Regions from separate parts of the Homo sapiens genome. Here region 1 is linked to region 2. The links are contacts of gene promoters, found by promoter capture Hi-C in blood cells and fetal thymus (Javierre and others, 2016). All regions are on one chromosome and are shown on one strand. The core of a region is centred on a gene start or on the middle of the fragment in contact, and the rest is flanking DNA. Distances in the headings are between cores, read along the strand shown. Region 1 overlaps DPYSL3 (dihydropyrimidinase like 3). Region 2 holds the start of SPINK1 (serine peptidase inhibitor Kazal type 1).

The links. Contacts are between HindIII fragments. The CHiCAGO score rates a contact against its expected background, and 5 or more counts as called.
Region 1: a fragment that was not itself captured here is called in contact with the fragment with the promoter of SPINK1 in region 2 in 2 of 17 cell types (fetal thymus and total B cells); the score reaches 5.6 in fetal thymus.

The regions. Positions count from the first base shown.
Region 1 is chr5:147,442,504-147,445,203 of GRCh38, reverse strand. All of the region lies in intron 1 of DPYSL3 (dihydropyrimidinase like 3), which reads left to right. Among named protein-coding and RNA genes, the nearest start is that of DPYSL3, 66 kb to the left of the region's middle. The HindIII fragment of the contact is 3,197 bases long and covers 1-2,700 here.
Region 2 is chr5:147,830,398-147,833,097 of GRCh38, reverse strand. SPINK1 (serine peptidase inhibitor Kazal type 1) reads left to right here and starts at 1,427. Exons shown (of 4, transcript NM_001379610.1): 1 at 1,427-1,575. The coding sequence starts at 1,521. It overlaps LOC124901101 (a long non-coding RNA gene), which reads right to left and starts at 2,593. Exons shown (of 2, transcript XR_007058987.1): 1 at 2,228-2,593; 2 at 1,487-1,689. The HindIII fragment of the contact is 4,964 bases long and covers 507-2,700 here.

The sequences.
Region 1 (2,700 bases), core at 142-2,641, 390 kb after region 2:
GCTTCTGCATCTGGGCTCATTCTGAGCTTGTTTCAGGGGCCTACCTGGATACTTATTGCCTGCAACAAAGACATCATTTCTCTTACTGCAAATGATTTGAAAGAATTAATGCAGACCTTTATGTCGTCTTTCATATAGAGGAAACTGTCACCATGACTCTTTGAACCAGAATACAACATAGATCTTAATTGAGGTCTCTTTCTGCCTTTGCACGTAAACTACAAAGTCATTAGAGTTATTAGCAGCAACTAGATAGACCAATCTGCATTTGTAAAGCAAACTTGGTATTTTGGAAGTATTGGTTAAGAAGCAGCTCATAGTTCTTTTTGTTTCCCTATTAGGGCTGGACATTTACATGGAATGGTTTTGTGTCTGTGTGTTTCAAAAGATTTTTAGTCTCTTACCCCACTGCACCTGTCAGCTTTCTCTGAGCTACATTTGGAGCTATTCTTATTACTCGTTTTTATTCTAAATGTAATTCTTTGGTTTGAGGGGTGGGGCCAGTTAACACAGATTTTACCAGGCTTATCTCTGGGTACAAACCAGAGAGTTTATGGTTTCAATAGGTTTATGTGTAATGGTAATCACTAGAGCCTTTTAAAGGGAGGACAAAATGGGAGAATCAAAGTATATTCATGGAACCAAAAACCTTTGATTAGAAAGTGTTTGAAGAACTATGTGTGTTATAAGAGTGTCATATATAATATAATCAGGTATGATAAAAGCATTTTGCTATTTTTTATTGCATAAAAGATATTTATTGACCATAAGCTCTGGCAAAAGTTAGTTTAATAATAAGAATAATTCACATTTATTGTACCCTGTGTAAAGTGCTTTTTATTCATTATCTCACTTAATTATCAAAACAACTTAATTAGGTAGATAGATTTTTCACCAGGTCTTTCTTTCCATTTTATTGATGAGGAAATTTAGAGAGATTAAGTAATTTGCCTAATATCACACAAGGCTTAAATGATGGAACCAAAATTCAAACTTAAGTTTATGTGACTTAGAGCCCCCATTCTTAACCCCACGGTATGGTGCTACCTTAAATTATCCCTCCGGAGGGATAATAACTTATCCCTCTCCCACCTCTGGAGTCACAAGACTTTGATTCCAATTGGAGTTCACTTACTTCAAGTCCAGGGGTAAGTCCTTCTCTGCACCTGTTTCCTATAAGGTATGAGTGGTGTAGGTTATGGGGGACATGGAAAACAGTTGGTGCCCCTCTTCTGCAAGGGGGATGGACTCCTTAGCACTGCTTGGCATCAGGAAGCCCTCTAGCCCTCCTGTTAAGAGCGGCTTTGTTTCTGGCATGTCCAAAGCTGCTCCACACTGTTATACTTACACAAACAACTTGCCAGGGAGATTCCCACCACTCTCAGCATCTTTGCATTGAATTAGCAAAACTACCAATTAGGGATTCTTCCTAACGTGAATTTAAATGCCACCTTCTCATTTCATACTCCACACTGCATGCCCCATTCTCTTAAATATATCTTAAGTAAGATTCTTTTGAGGTTTGACTTACTATGGCTCTGTAAAATTCATACTTTCAGAGTCTCCATGGAGATAACTTTTTTCTTTATCTCTCCTTAAAAAAAAAAAAACGGGATACATGTGCAGAACGTGCAGGTTTGTTACATAGGTATACATGTGCCGTGGTGGTTGGCTGCACCTATTGACCCATCCTCTGAGTTCCCTCCCATCACCCCCCCAACCCCCAACAGGCCCTGGTGTGTGTTGTTCTCCTCTCTGTGTCCATGTGTTCTCAATGTTCAACTCTCACTTATAAGTGAGAACATGCGGTGTCTGGTTTTCTGTTCCTGTGTTAGCTTGCTGAGAACGATGGCTTCTAGCTTCATCCATGTCCCTGCAAAGGACATGATCTCATTCCTTTTTATGGCTGCATAGTATTCCATGGTGTATATGTACCACATATTCTTTATCCAGTCTATCATTGGTTCTATGTCTTTGCTATTGTAAATAGTGCTGCAATAAACATACGTGTGCATGTGTCTTTATAGTAGGATGATTTATATTTCTTTGGGTATATACCCAGTAATGGGATTGCTGGGTCAATATTTTTTTTAAGTCTAATGCCCCATCTTATGAATAATAAAACCAACACCCAAGTGGTACCCACCTAATTAGTGTTTTTGCTACTATCTGTTTTACTGTGGGACACAAGGATTTTAAAATTAACTAAGGCTTTTTTTCCATTACAAAATAAGTATGCTGGTTGTAGAAAAATTTACCAAAATCACAAACAATAAGGACAATAAAAATAAGCTACAATGAAATTACTCAGAGAGAACCACTGTAAACTTTCAGTATACCCATCTAGATTTTTTTTTTTGACTATATTTGCCATTTATTAAAATGATTCCACATATTGTTTACGCTGTTTTATGCCTTACTTTTCATTGCACAATATATTACGACATCTTTCCATGTTTTAAATATCCTTCCATAATTTAATTTTTAATAGCTATATATTATTACATTCCTTGGAAAATCTAGTTAAATGAATCTCATTTTTTTTGCATTGTTTTGATTTTTTCCGAGATCTTTGCATTAACAACAAAAATGAAATGACAGATTTATTGTCGGTTGTTTTTTAGTTGAAGCCAAACTAAAAACTGCCTCAGGATGAGAGGTTGAGTAATCTTCCCGAAGTCACTCAGCTCACGAGTATCA
Region 2 (2,700 bases), core at 178-2,677:
TCATGTCTCTGTGTGATATCACCTGAAAAGCAAGACCTTCTCTGATTACGCTATGATACATATCTCCTTAACCCTCCAGCACCCTTATCCTTCTTGTCCTTTTCTCCATAATATTTATCTGATATATTTTATAATCACTTATTATTTTTTGTCACTTGCCTCCCTCAACAAAAAGGCAATGGAAGCTCCATGAAGACAGAGATTGTTATTTTTATTTACTGATCTGTCTTAAGAGATAAATACAGTTCTTGTCATGACTTGGGAAGGGTTTGAGATTTTATCCTACTTGGAAGCTAAGAAGTTAGCCTGCCACATTATAATGGTTTCTGGCAGAAGGCACAGACTCCTGGCTCAGAGAAAAGGGACTTAATTATTCCATAGCAACAGCCAGAGTATTGGAATTTGTTCTGGTTTCCCAAGCCCCAATTTCCACAGGCCAATTTAAGGGGCATCAAGTGATAGTTGCAGGGAAAGTACAGTGTGTTAAAGGAAAGAAAGGCCAAGCTTTTAAAAACCCGAAATCTTTTGTAAAGGGCAATTAACATGGTCTTTGCCCTAGAAGGAGATATTAACTTTATTACACTAAACAGTAAACAAACCTGCCTTTTGGTGCAGAGGGAGACATTACGTATTTTCTAAGGTCGTTTGTTATATAAACACCCTTAAAAAGATAGTCTGAAACAAAGGTTATCAGTACCTCTACTCATAAGACACACCAAAACATGAGAGAGGATGGAGAATTCTCTTCTAATAACACATGGTAGATATCCAGCACATATTCTCTTTTACCCAGCACATATTCTCAGATGAAAGAGTAACCCTTTGAATTAGGTGTTATTATTATTTTAATTTCCAGATGAATACACAGAAGCACAGCAAAAGTGGCTCCAACAAGCACCCTCTAGCTCCAGAATACACGCTTTAGGGAACTGAGTCCTCTCTCTCTCTTGCTTTCTCTTTCCCTCTCATCTGCCACTCCATCAGCTACTTTAGGTTTTGTGAATGAGTGAGGGAAAAATAGAGAAAAGAGAAAGAAGAATAAGAAAGGAAGAGTGGAGGAAAGGAAAAAAGAATGGAGAGGTTTTACCCTACTTGGAATAAAATTCTTTCTAGTAGCTATCCATACCTGCTCATCTATCCAGAACTACAGAGTAGAAGGGATCTTTGAGTTCATCTTACAGGTGAGAAAACAGGCTTGAGAAGGGAATGACTTTCCCACAACCACAGAGGGAGTTAGGGATCAAACTAACCACTAGAACTATTTTCCTGACAGAATCTTTGCCTTGCATGTTTCAGGCCCACCTGGCTCCTTTCACCTTTCTTACACAGGTGACATTCCCAGAACCTGGAGGCCAGGCTATGACACAGAGTCAATCAATAACCAGGGAGATCTGTGATATAGCCCAGTAGGTGGGGCCTTGCTGCCATCTGCCATATGACCCTTCCAGTCCCAGGCTTCTGAAGAGACGTGGTAAGTGCGGTGCAGTTTTCAACTGACCTCTGGACGCAGAACTTCAGCCATGAAGGTAACAGGCATCTTTCTTCTCAGTGCCTTGGCCCTGTTGAGTCTATCTGGTAAGTGTTGCATATTTTTCAAATTTAAATAAAACTGTTTTGACCTGTTGCTTTGTGAAGCACATTATCTTCTAGACTTTTGATGTAGTCTAGTCTTCGAGAGATGTTTTGGACCTAATGAGATGAAATAAAATCAACAGGTAAGAATTATTTTTTAAGAGGAATTTTTAACCTACTATAAGGAAAACAATTCTACTAGTAAGAAATTCCCAGAAATAAAATGGTTTTCCTCTATTGATGTGGCTGACCCTTTGTTGGGATATGGTAGAGAAAAAAGGGTAAAAATATTTTAACTTTAAGTATACTTCTCATTCTGTAAATGTGTAAGGCCAAATTACAAATTTTAAATTCTCATGGGATTGCATAAAATAGATAAATGGCTTCCAGTTATTCAGTATAAAAGGCATAATTTGACTGATTAAAAATTTATTTTTTTATTGTATAGGTTTCAGTGTACTTGAATCATGTATAGTTTGTCAGATTTATCCCTGAATAGCTAATATATGTGATATAAAGGGAATTTTTTATTTTCAATTCCTGGTATTTCTTATTAGTATCTGGAAATACAAAAATTGCATTTTGTGTATTTACATTACACATTTTGAATGTTTTGAAAGAAAATATTCTGCTTGAATAGATGGTGCACATATACCTCCAACTGCATCTTGACAATGTTGACAGACAACTCTGAACCCGCAGAGCCAAGATCAGTTTCCTTTTTATCACTGGAAATGGTTAACATTTTCAACTTCACCTCTCATGTAGTGAAGGATCCTGTGGAGAGCCAAATCAGCACTTTGCTAAGAAGAGGAAGAATATTGTTTGTTTTATTTGCTGAATATTTATGGCAACAGTCAGTGTTCCCTTTCCCCCTCCTCATGCATGTTAATTAATACAAATAGATGCCTGTGATGAGCACCTGCTCTTCAGTTTTTAGACTCAACTAGATTCTAAAAGCCAGTGGGCCCCCAACAACATCAAGTTCTGACTATCCCGGGGGAAATTCTCCAAGCTCATAGATGCCTCACTAATTTTCATTACATTTAGATACAAAGAACTACCTCTTTGCTCAGATCACCTCAAAGATTGATGATATTAAAATTAATTTTCAGGAATGTTTCCTTA